Regions from separate parts of the Homo sapiens genome. Here region 2 is linked to region 1. The links are contacts of gene promoters, found by promoter capture Hi-C in blood cells and fetal thymus (Javierre and others, 2016). All regions are on one chromosome and are shown on one strand. The core of a region is centred on a gene start or on the middle of the fragment in contact, and the rest is flanking DNA. Distances in the headings are between cores, read along the strand shown. Region 1 holds the start of TMX4 (thioredoxin related transmembrane protein 4). Region 2 overlaps PLCB4 (phospholipase C beta 4).

Region 1 (6,003 bases), core at 2,132-4,631:
GATCTACCACACTCTTCTTCCCCTCTCTCCTGCTAATGATGTTACCTCATCAGAGGCCTAGGAATTCCTTTGCCTACTAGGAACCACATATTTTTGTGTAATCATAGCTGCCCTGCAGTGCCACCATCACTCTGGGGGAAAAAGCCTTTTCTCCTAGTACCAGGTACCAATCTTCTTAAACCTGTAAATCCACGTTTTAAACATAAACATGGATCACACACTGACCTAGCATAGCATTACAGCATAACAAATTGCCCCAAATCTTAGTGGCTTGATATTATGTAACAACATTGATTACCTCACAGTTTCCGTGGGTGGAGGTCCCAGCTAAGCTAAGCTTTGCCCCCTGGTTCTGGGTCATTTATAAGGCTCACCCGTCTCAAGAGCACTGGTGACAGATTTGCTTCTAGGTCACTCATGTGGTTGTTTGAAGATCCAGTTCTTTGAGGGCTGTTGGGCTGAGGTCTCAGTTGCTTAGGCTGCAGACCTCCCTTGTCACATGGAGCTCTCCACACAGAGTCGCAGAGTGAGTGTGCAAGAGGAAAAGAAGTTTCCAGCAAAATGGAAGTCTCAGGTTTTTGTAACCTTAACAAAGAAGTGATAATCCATCAGTTTTCCCATCTTCTGTTAGAAGTGGGTCACCAGGCCCAACCCACACTCAAGAGGAAAGGATCACACAAGGGCCTGAATACCAGGAGGGAGAGATCTTGGGAGGAGTGCCAGAAGCTGTCTATCCCAAGTACATCTATGGGATGGGTATTCTGCAATACAGGGGACACAAAGATATATAAGGTAAAGCCCTTGACCTTGAAGAGTTTTTAGTAGTGGTTGGAGGAGTGAGGGTAGAGGGTGATAGCTACATATAAATGCATTATACTATGAAAGGTATGTGGTGAAGTTATTGTATTAGTCCATTTTCACGCTGCTGATAAAGACATACCCGAGACGGGGTAATTTATACAGGAAAAAGTGTTTATTCAACTCACAGTTCCTCATGGCTGGGGAAGCCTCACAATCATGGTGGAAGGCACGGAGGAGTAAGTCATGTCTTACGCGGATGGCAGCAGGCCAAAAGAGAGACAGCTTGTGCAGGGAAATTACCATTTTTAAAACCATCAGATCTCATGAGACTTATTCACTATCACGAGAACAACATGGGAAAGACCCGCCCCCATGATTCAATTATCTCCCATGGGGTCCCTCCCACAACACGTGGGAATTAGGGGAGCTACAAAATGTGATTTGGATGGGGACACAGAGCCAAACCATATCAGTTATACAGAAGAGCAATTGGATCTGAGAAGAGACAGCAGCTCATTCTGCATGAGCTATCAGAGGTACAGTGTGGACTACATGACAGAGACTGAATGATTCACTGGACAACTGGAGAAGAGTGTTCTAATCAGAATGAAGGAGCAAGGAGACACTGAAGTACACAATGTGCTTTGGGAATGGGGAGTAGCTTTGTGTTACTAGGACACAGGGAACTCTGGGAATAGTGGAATGTAAAGTGGGCAAAACTGAAGCTGGGCTGTGAGAGGCATTGTGTATCATGCTAAGTGAAGTTAACTTTAGTATAAGAAAAATAGACATTACAGCGTATTGTTGCCTCCAAATAATAATATTAGTGTTGGCAATATTGTGGCAAAAACCACAATTATGTTTGCACCAACCTAATATGTAAGCTTTTTGAGTTAGAATATGTGCTAGGCATTATTCTTATCTCATATAATCTTCACAGCCACCTTTTGGAGCAGGTTCTATTACTACCCGCATTTTAAGAGAACTTTGGTGTGGACTAGTTTTAGCCCCAAATCACATGGCTAGGAAGTGTCAGGGCTAAGATGCCAATCATGGTCTGACAGCAACAGGTCCCTTACCCTGGTCTGTGACTCCTTACGGCAAGGTCAGTCCCATACTTCCTTGCTACTTTCTTCCTACCATCCTTAGTCTGAAGGCTAAGACTTCAGTTTTTGTTAAAGATAGGAAATGCTTTGGTAATGGCTGTCTTTCATGCTGAAGATGCTCTCTCTCCTTTTAGCTTTTCATTTTGTAAATTTTCCAACATATGCATGAGTAGGTAAAGTAGCAAAATGAACTTAGCTTCAACACTGACTGATGTTGCACCACTTTTCTTTCACCTATCTTCTTTCCATTCCCTACATTTTATTTCTGGAGCATTGTAAAACAAATTCTACACATCATTCTATCATGAAAGTGATAAAATGACAGAATTCCTGTTTATGAGTCACTTCTTTTTACAAGCACAGTAAAATGTTTTCCATTGAGTTTATGGAATTGATATGTATGTACTTAATAACAGTGAGTCTTAGTAGCATTCATTGCAAAGACATTTTCTTAAATTTCAATAGTTTGTAAACCCTTGAGTGTTTTATTTTAATGATAAGGGCTAGGTCCACATAGTTTTTAGCTAATACTAATTAATGCATAATGCAGGCCAGATCTTCTCTTCAGGCAAAATTAACTTCCCTCTCCTATAAGTATTGATTGAAATTTGCTCTCATGTGCCCTGAAGTACTTTTAGTCTTATTGCTGTCTTTGTTTTAAGCCGAGGGCAGAAACCACATCCTTTTCATGGTCTATTAACCACATTACCGAGGTTCATGGTTTGCACAACTAGTAAACACATACAAAGCACCCTTTGAGAAAGCTTCCTCATCCTTTAATTGTAATCCAGTCTTATATATTAACGGTGTGGTGGTCCCAAGGTACAGATTCATCTAATGTGACCTGGAAAGAAATTTGGAAATCACTTAAGGCTACCCTCATTTTAGATCTGACAAAACTGTAGTCAAGAGAAATGTGAGGTCCATTTTACTGCAGGTGGCAATAGTCTTAATTGACTCATTTTATCGGCTAGTACCCATGTTTTTAAGAGTTTCTATGAAATTAACATTTTTTGTAAAAAAAATGCAATTGCATAGGCTAGTTTCATCAATATCCTAAATTAGTGATGCTTCAATATACACATGCAGAGTACTTAAATTTTCCTCTCTCTTCAGCAGGAGATACTCACCACGTCCCTCCATTTTTCATTAAACATACGTGTACCTTGCAGCCCGTTGCTTTTATATTTGCTATCATTGAAGAGGGGATGGATTTTAAAATTACTGGCCATGTTTCCCTTTAGAGAAGCCCACACGCGCCAACCCTGCCCTTATTGGAGCCTGGGCAGCAGCGGTGCATGTTCTAACTTAGGCAACGTTGGGTCATCTGTTTATTGTCAGCTTGGCGGTCAGGAAGAAAGGGCGGTGGTTGCTGAGGTAACCGACACCCCGGGCAACGGCAAGTGGAGGCGGGAGGGGGCGTGGCCTCGACGGGCAAGCGGCGATAAGAGGTGGCGTCCTCCGCGGCATTGCGAGCACCGCCAGTCTGCGCCGCTAGGCGTAGGCGGGGTGGCCCTTGCGTCTCCCGCTTCCTTGAAAAACCCGGCGGGCGAGCGAGGCTGCGGGCCGGCCGCTGCCCTTCCCCACACTCCCCGCCGAGAAGCCTCGCTCGGCGCCCAACATGGCGGGTGGGCGCTGCGGCCCGCAGCTAACGGCGCTCCTGGCCGCCTGGATCGCGGCTGTGGCGGCGACGGCAGGCCCCGAGGAGGCCGCGCTGCCGCCGGAGCAGAGCCGGGTCCAGCCCATGACCGCCTCCAACTGGACGCTGGTGATGGAGGGCGAGTGGATGCTGAAATTGTGAGTGTGCCCGCCCGCCCCGGACGCCGCAGTGTCCTCGCGGGCGTCACCCTCCCAAGCCCGCGCGGCCCGGTGGCGATCCCGCATTGCCGCTTGGGCTCAACCTAAAACCCCGGACCAGGCTTGCCAACAACCTGCGGCGCCGGTGCCGGGCCGCTTGCGATCCTGCACTGCCGCTGGGCTCGACCTGGGGTCCGCGGACCCGCCTTACCAACGACCTGCGGCTGTGGGGCCCGGCCGCTCGCGCCGCGCATGCGCGCCGAGCCCTCGCGGTGACAGCCGAGGGTGCAGCGCGTCCCCTTGCTTTGGGGGACAGTGTTTTCGGGGTGGAGTGGGCAGCTTCCCATAGGGAGGAGAAGGGAAGGAAGAAAATCTGCAAGCAAACCGTGTGCTTTTAGATACAGATATGTATTGGAAGAGAAAGGACATTCAGTGACATCCACGTGCAGTATGAATACGTAGCACAGGCTAAGCAAGTTACCTGTTGAAGAAATTGCAGCACGGTGAAGGCAGGCCATTTGTGTCGTAGTCTTCCGTTTGAAGACCTGGAGATGTCATTGTGAGAATAAAACATAAATATGGATGCCTTTTAAATTTTACAGTATGATTTCAAATAAATGTTGATACTTATTATAACTTGTAAAGGTAGGACTTTCTGAGTAATATTAATAATTGTGCCATAAAGAAAAGAAGATACGCATTGCCCCTTTTAACAATAGAAAGCAAATGGTGGATAGTGCCTTTTCTTTAAGGAGATGGGAAACTACAGTTTTGAGTTAGGAGAAAGAAAGGGATTTGTTGATTATAGTTTAACCTTATAATAGGAAGTGACCATTTGAAAGAGGCTTGCAGTGGATGGTGGGCAGATGTCTGAGCGGGCTTGAGAGACCATCATGGTGGGCTTGCAGACTCTCTCTCTCTCTCTCTCTCTCTCTCTCTCTCTCTCTCTCTCTCTCCCCCTCCCTCCCTCCCTCCCTCCCTCCCTCCCCCTCTCTCTCTCTCTCCTCTCTCTCTTCTCTCTCTCTCTCTCTCCCTCCCTCCCTCCCTCTCTCTCTCTCTCCTCTCTCTCCTCTCTCTCTCTCTCTCTCCCTCCTCTCTCTCTCTCTCTCTCTCTGTCTCTCTCTCCCCTCCCACAACTCCTTTCCACCCTACCTGCCCCCCTCCCGCCCCCACCCCCCAAACATAAAATCTTTCAGGAAATTGCCACATCTCTTTAGCCTGTGGTTTCTGGCAATCTGTATACTACTATTGAATCTTTGTTTTACGTTGAGGACACAGACAGAAAATTGGATCTTTCCTTTATCCAAGACCAAGTTTTGATTCTTTCAATTTAAATTGCAAGCAGGTGCCTATGGAGTGAAAACCTCAGTGTGAGATCAGAGCCAAAATTTATGTCACACAGCAGATTACATTGCTCGAAGAACATAAGGCATATCACCCCTTCAAATGTGCATTTACCTCTTAGTCACAAAGAAGGGGATATTTTAGACCTCCAAATGAAATACCCTTGGTATCATAATAAATCAATGAAATTATTAAAGGGAACTGTAGACATGAATTATTAAAATATTCCACTTAACTATTTTTGGAAGAAGGTGAGGGGGTCATATTCTATTTGAGAAACTTTTAAAATAAGTGGAGCTGTGTTAAGACTTCCATGTTTGTAATAATTTTAAGAGTTTGGGATAAACTGCATTTTGTCAGCCAATACTACAGAAAGTTCTCTTTTCAGTAGGTGCTTACAAAATGGACTTTTTCCTAGATGTCATCTTTCAGGGTAAAACTGAGTTTGCATATGTATGTAAGAAAAGTTAAAACAGAAAGGCCTCCTCATTTTTAATGACTTCAACTCCTCTATGGTTCCTTTTGGAATTGCTTTTTTTTTGGTAATAGAATTAAGAACACTAAAGCCTCAATAAGTTTTTGAGGGAGAGCCAACAACATCTGTGCTTGGCCATGTTGATGGTTCAAATTTTACTTTTTTATGAATGTATAAACCTAAACATAGTAATCAATTGCTCTGAGTTTGTCATGTGTCCAGTTGTATGGAATATGCTTGGCCTGTGATGCCAGATGAGTCTTGTAATCTGGAAGTAAGCTGTGTAGACACAAGGTCATTTTAGTAGACATTCTCTTTTTATCGAGTGCACTTCAGAATAGGTGGCTAGGAAGCAAGGCTGTCAATGAAAATTGATCCAAACCATTCCATCCAACTTCTTTATACGCACTAAAACCCAAGTGCTCATCCTGAAGAAATATTTTGGTTCTTATCTATTTGTGATCTATTTTTTTCTGTATT
Region 2 (6,003 bases), core at 2,070-4,569, 1.4 Mb before region 1:
GAACCCGGGGGGCAGAGCTTTCAGTGAGCGGAGATCACGCCACTGCACTCCAGCCTGGGCAACAGAGTGAGACTCCATCTCAAAAAAAAAAAAAAATGGTCAATTTGTTTGTCTTAACTGATCACTTAACAATCTGAGCATTCTAAATTATCAAACTGATTTCACCAATAAAAGCCTGAAACAATAATCAAGTAATGTAATTTGGTTTTGTTTTTGTTTTTATCATTTTCTTAATGTGTCCTCCTGCTCCCCCACCAAACAACGGCCATGTCCGTTCCTTCCATGTGTGTTTAATAATAATAAATACCACCAGTGCTATGAGCTGAGCACCAGGATGAGTTCTTGCACACACAGTCTCATTACTGTCTGTGATGTGTAGTGAGGATTAGAGTCCTACCCACTGACCACATGAGAAGATTGATGCCTTGAGAATTAAAATAACTTAGCTAATAAATGACAATGACCAAATGTCAATCTGTATACTGTTGACCCAAATTATGAATTATGAAATTCTAGAACAAGAGAGTAATGTACTCACAAATATTTTGGGACAGGCCTGCGACCATATTTATTCATAATTCTTTCAAGTTTAATATTTAGAGGGTGAGAAGATACGATCTCAACTTCAAATAGGATAGGACCCCACAGGCAGCAAGGCAGTATTTTCCGAACCTCTGAAGTATGAGAATGAAGTTATTAGGCAAACTTCTGCCTGTGGCTGTCAGCCTCACTGTTGTAGGATAAACCATAAATACTTACTAAATAAAACCACTGTGATCACTTGAAGAACTTTGAAGAGGATGAAAGAAAGTGAAAATGTAACTTTACCTTTCCTACAATAAGGCCAATAGCTAATAACATCAAATAATACTCTTAGAAGTTATGCAGTGTAAAATTAATCAGTGATCTTCCAGAATGTCAATGTAGTGGGAACTAAGATCATCCTTTCTATTATGCTATAATATGGATTTGATGACCTATTCACTCATTTTTATTTTCAAATTCAATATGCTGATGATCATGTAGTTCCACTGCAGGAATGAAATCTCTAATTCCAGTGAAGAAAATGCCTTACTGCATTAAATACCTACTTTTAGAAAATCATCTTACTCATCTGCCCTAGTTTTGTGATTTTTATCAGGATTTAATCATTTTTTCACCACAACTGATTCCTTCCTTTGAAGATTTTTTAAATTAGATGCATCTGATTTAAAATGTGCAAGGGAATTATTTTGTTACCTTTTTGTTGTTTTCATGTTCAAGGTCATCTGAAGCCTAATTAGAGAAAGGAAATAATTTGTTTACTTCTCTAAAGGGCAAAATTCCAAATTTATTAGCCATACATACATAGATATTTAAATAAGTGTAGGTAAACTTGTTATTCTATTTATTTGCTAAGGTGGGACATTACTGATGACAAAAAGCCATGGATGGCCTCACTGTTTTATGCACCAGAAGGGCTAATCTTAATGCTCTTTCCCTCCTTCGTGGACAGTCTTTACCTACTTAGATGTTTTATTATAATTATTTAATTAGTGCTTTAGTCATGGGGCTTAGGAAAAGCAGCATGAATGGTCACTCTTGAGTAACTCAGCATTCATGTCTGGGTATTTGTTATGGACTGTTTGCTGGTGCAGCCCCCCATACTGTCCCCAATTCATATACTGAAACCTTAATTCTCATGTGATGGCATTTGAAGATGGGGCCTTTGGGAGGTAATTTGGTCATGAGGGCCAAGCCAAGAGAGAGCTTGCCTCCTTATTCTCTGTCCACCACATGAGGACATAAACACGAAGAAGGCCCCCCACATTAGGAACTGATTGCGTGGAACCTTGATCTTAGACTTCTTAGACTCTAGAATGGTGACAAATAGTTTTCAGTTGTTTAAGCCAATGGTATTTTTGTGATAGCAGCACCAACTGACTAAGACACTAAGACAATATTGATGAAGGCTTTAGCAACTTTTTTTTTTTTTTTTTTTTTGAGACACAGTCTTGCTCTGTTGCCCAGGCTGGAGTGCAGTGGCACAATCTTGGCTCACTGCAACCTCCGCCTTTTGGGTTCAAGCAGTTCTCCTGCCTCAGCTTCCTGAGTAGCTGGGATTACAGGCGCGTACCATGGCGCCTGGCTAATTTTTGTATTAAAACAATACTCTTGAGTCTTAATAGATGTTCAATATTCTCAGAGTAGTCACAATTCCCTATATCAGAAAAGATAGTGTGTAAAGGCAATATTCCTTTGGCTTTGCTCATCAGACAAATACTCTCCCCTCTTCCTATCACCAAATGTATCTGCCTACCTGCATCTTCATCCACTGTCTTCACTAATCAGGTGTTCCTGCTCCTGTGAAGGGCCACACCTTTGCACCACAGCAATCCCACCCTCTTCCACCTCCTCAAGGAATTCCAGGCAGTTATCCCCTCTCTTTCCTGCAAAACTAATCTCTTCCTCTCTACTGCACCACTTCCAAGTTTTCAAACACACTCCAGATTCATTCATCCGAAAAAGAAAACACTCCCTTGACTCCTCAGGTGCCCTTGGCCACCAGTCCATTTCTTGCTCCCCTTCACATCAAAACTTCTCAAAAGCATAGTCTCTAGTCATTCATATCTGTGTGATCCAGTGTCACCACCCTGCCTGGCACTCCACTGAAATGTCTCTTTAAGGTTGCCAACGACCTCCATGCTAACAACCCAAAGGACACTCTTGAGTCTTCTTACTTAATCAGTCAGTAGCATTTGTTAAATTAAGTTTAGCCTAAAGGTGTCTCTTTACCTATTCTAAAGGTTTTTTCATAAACTTTCACATAGTAAACTGTAGACTGAATGGGTGTGTAAACAGACTGGAACCTACTCATGTGCCAATCACTGAGTTTCAGCCAATCAAAGGTGGCCAACTATTCAACCTCTGTTCAAATAAGGCAAATAAGCCTGTAACCAATACAGCTGCTTCTGTACCTCACTTCTGTTTTCTGTAGGTCACTTTCCTTTTTCTGCCAAAAAATCTTCCACCACATGGCTGCACTGGAGTTTCTCTGAACCTCTTCTGGTTTGGGTCCTGCCCAATTTGGGAATTGTTTTTTTTGCTCAACTAAACTCTGTTAAATTTAATTTGTCTAAGATTTTTAACATATTCTACAGTCAACCACTCAGTCCTTCTGTTAACACTGTTCTCTTTCCTGGTTTTCTTGGTGTCACTGCCTAATTTCCCTCCTACTTCTCTAGCCATACCTTGCTCTTCTTTTCTGGCTCCACTTTTAACTAGGGCTCCACTTGGGCCTTCTTTTCCACCTTTCCTTGTGAATCATCTCAGTATTTCCATTGTTTCAAATACGATCTTTTGAACTCCCAACTTGTATCTCTAGCTCAACCTGTCTTCTATATACGCGTGATAATGACGCCAGTGATCATGAGGATAATGACAATGATAAAGATGAAAAGGATGATAATATACCAGCAACTAATACCTTTACAGGAGTTACCATGTACCAGGCACCACGCTAAGCTCTTGACATGTCACAAACCATCCACTCTTCACAGTGACCCCATGAAATAGGTGTTATCGTCTTCACTTTGCAGATGAGGAAACTAAGGTACACAGAGGTTAAGTAACTTACCCAAAGTTAGACAGTTAGGAAATGAACCCAGAGAAAGAGTCAGATGGCAATGCTATATGAACACCTCCCCTTGAATACTTCACAGGCATCTCAAATAGTCATCCCATTTGAAACTCCTGAATTCTTTCTCTTTCGGTCTTCCCCATGCCAGTAAATGGTACCATCACCTACCCAGTTCCTCAAACAAGGACACTAGAGGGTCATCTCACTTCTTCTTTCTCTCTCATTCCCACATTCCATCCATCAGTAGGCTGTCCCATTTCTCAATATGTCTTGAAGCCACTCAGTCCTCTCTGATGCATTGTCTGGTTTGACCATCGGGGACTCTCGTCTGGCCTAGAGCAGCAGCCTGTCCTCACTGCTTTTCCTGCTTCCACTCCTGTTTCCTCCTAAACTAGTCTCCATATGGCAACCACAGCAATCTTTTAAAACTTGAATCAGGCTACACTGCCCCCTTCTCTAAACTTTTTCAGTAGTGTCACATTTCACTGAATATTTGAATTTCTCATAATGGCCTCCAAAATCCTACATCACCCAGTTCCCACCTACCTGCCTCATCTCGTCTCACTCCACCCTCACTCAAGCCACTCTACTCACAGCCCTTGCTGTTGTTACTGTGGTCCCTCCGCATGGAAAGTGATTCATCAACCTCTGTGCATGGCCAATTCCTCTTGACCCTTTGCGTTCTGGTTTCCTTATTCTTTCTACTTCATTATTCTTCAGCATGCGTGTTTATGTTCATAATTGCACTCACCGTAAGTTGTAATTATATAGTTATTTGACTACTTGCTTGTTTGCTGTTTCCGATCCCTTTCCCTAAACTACAGGGGGCCATGAGCTGCCTAAGGGCAGAAGGCAAGTGTGTTTTACACTTTTAGGTCATTATGGCCTAGACTATGCCTGACAAAAGGTAAGTATATGAATAACTATTTTCCTTGGCTGAATATCTGGAAACATTTTTATGCTTACTGTACTTTAGGGGGAAGGTATATAATTAGCAGGACTAGTTCTCAAATGAGGGCTAGACTCGGGATGTTCAGGGGTCATTTTCCTGATGAATTCAAGATTAAATCTTACCCCTGGGATGCTGTCATTTTCTCCCTCCCCAGCTGCAATAACACAATAAATGATAATATTTAGAGGACACTGGCCAAATGGGTAGTGGTTAACACTGGCCCTGACTAATGAGTAATTTAAATGTCCTTTTAAATTTAATATTGTGTATGTGTCAAGTTCTGGTCACCCAGCACAGACTCGTATCCTAAGCAATTTAGAAGGGGAATTATAGGTTACTTTATTCTCTTGTGGTTCTCACATTTCCAAAATTTCATAAATAACAGCTGCTACCTCTTGAGAGTGATGAAAGAAAGGGGACTCTGACCTTCTTGACGCTATTTGCAACAGCTTCCTTGTGACCCAAGTCATCAGCAGAAAGTTCATTTCCAAATTTGAATTCGGGGTGAGCTTCCTCCTCTTGGTCAGCTGTGTGAAAGACAAATGGAAAATCCATGACACCAAACCACTGCCAAGTAGTCAGACCTTGTTCACAATCTTGGGTAGAACATAAGCACTTTTAGAGAAAAAGGATGCTAAAAGAAAATGGGGACATTGATATATGCAGTATTTTTTCAAGTAAAACTCTCACTAAACTCTTACCTATTCAACGTCAAGGAGCACATCTTGTTATGTATTATTTCTCCTGCTCCTAAAATGTGGTTTGAAATGCTTGATGCTTAATAAATTTTTTTTAAGTGGATGGCTACTTCTATTCTAGTATACTAATTCTAAAAATGAAAGCCTCAAACACTGCAGGAATATCTATAACTCATAAAAAGGTGTTTTGATCTTTCATGACATCAAGAGCAAATAAGAAGATGCAAGAAAACAAATACATCGGATAATTTTGAAAGAGACTAAAATGTCCACTTGAATTTTATGGGCATAATGACTTATAGCTTGGAGTGGTAGAAAAAAGAAAGGCCTCAGAAGGATTGTGCTACTCCTGCAAACTATTTGTCAAACCTAGCATAGGTTTCAAAGGCTCAGGGCTCATTTGTCAGGCTCAGGTAGGAGGAGAAGTGGAAGTGGGTGCCAAATAAAGCTGGTGTCCCTGGAGCGTGGTCTAGTCTGTGAAAGGAAGTACACACACTGTGTTCATTGGTCCAGGAAAGTGACAAGAATGCCAGAATCCACCCAGGATGTTCGTGGGGAAAAAAAAGAAGTACCTGCTGGAAAATGTGCAACATGCTGAGGTGAGATTTGGATTCACACAATCACTATTTGCAGTAATTCCCAGATAAAGAATTTGCCTAAAATCTAGCCAGGATCAGGAGAAACCCACAGACATCAGGATGAGGACAATATAAATCCACATGGTCACACCACAG

What was found. The method cuts DNA at HindIII sites, captures the fragments that hold promoters and counts their contacts. A CHiCAGO score of 5 or more calls a contact.
Region 2: a fragment that was not itself captured here is called in contact with the fragment with the promoter of TMX4 in region 1 in 1 of 17 cell types (monocytes); the score reaches 5.2 in monocytes.

What each region holds. Positions count from the first base shown.
Region 1 is chr20:8,017,139-8,023,141 of GRCh38, reverse strand. TMX4 (thioredoxin related transmembrane protein 4) reads left to right here and starts at 3,381. Exons shown (of 8, transcript NM_021156.4): 1 at 3,381-3,704. The coding sequence starts at 3,529. TMX4-AS1 (TMX4 antisense RNA 1) reads right to left here and starts at 3,236. Exons shown (of 7, transcript NR_184034.1): 1 at 3,038-3,236; 2 at 1,881-2,751; 3 at 987-1,083; 4 at 693-761; 5 at 375-585. RefSeq lists silencers at 3,381-3,620, 3,731-3,870. The HindIII fragment of the contact is 3,626 bases long and covers 2,674-6,003 here.
Region 2 is chr20:9,400,585-9,406,587 of GRCh38, reverse strand. It overlaps PLCB4 (phospholipase C beta 4), which reads right to left. Exons shown (of 40, transcript NM_001377142.1): 20 at 4,998-5,098; 21 at 1,240-1,275. Among named protein-coding and RNA genes, the nearest start is that of LAMP5, 110 kb to the left of the region's middle. The HindIII fragment of the contact is 8,869 bases long and covers 1-6,003 here.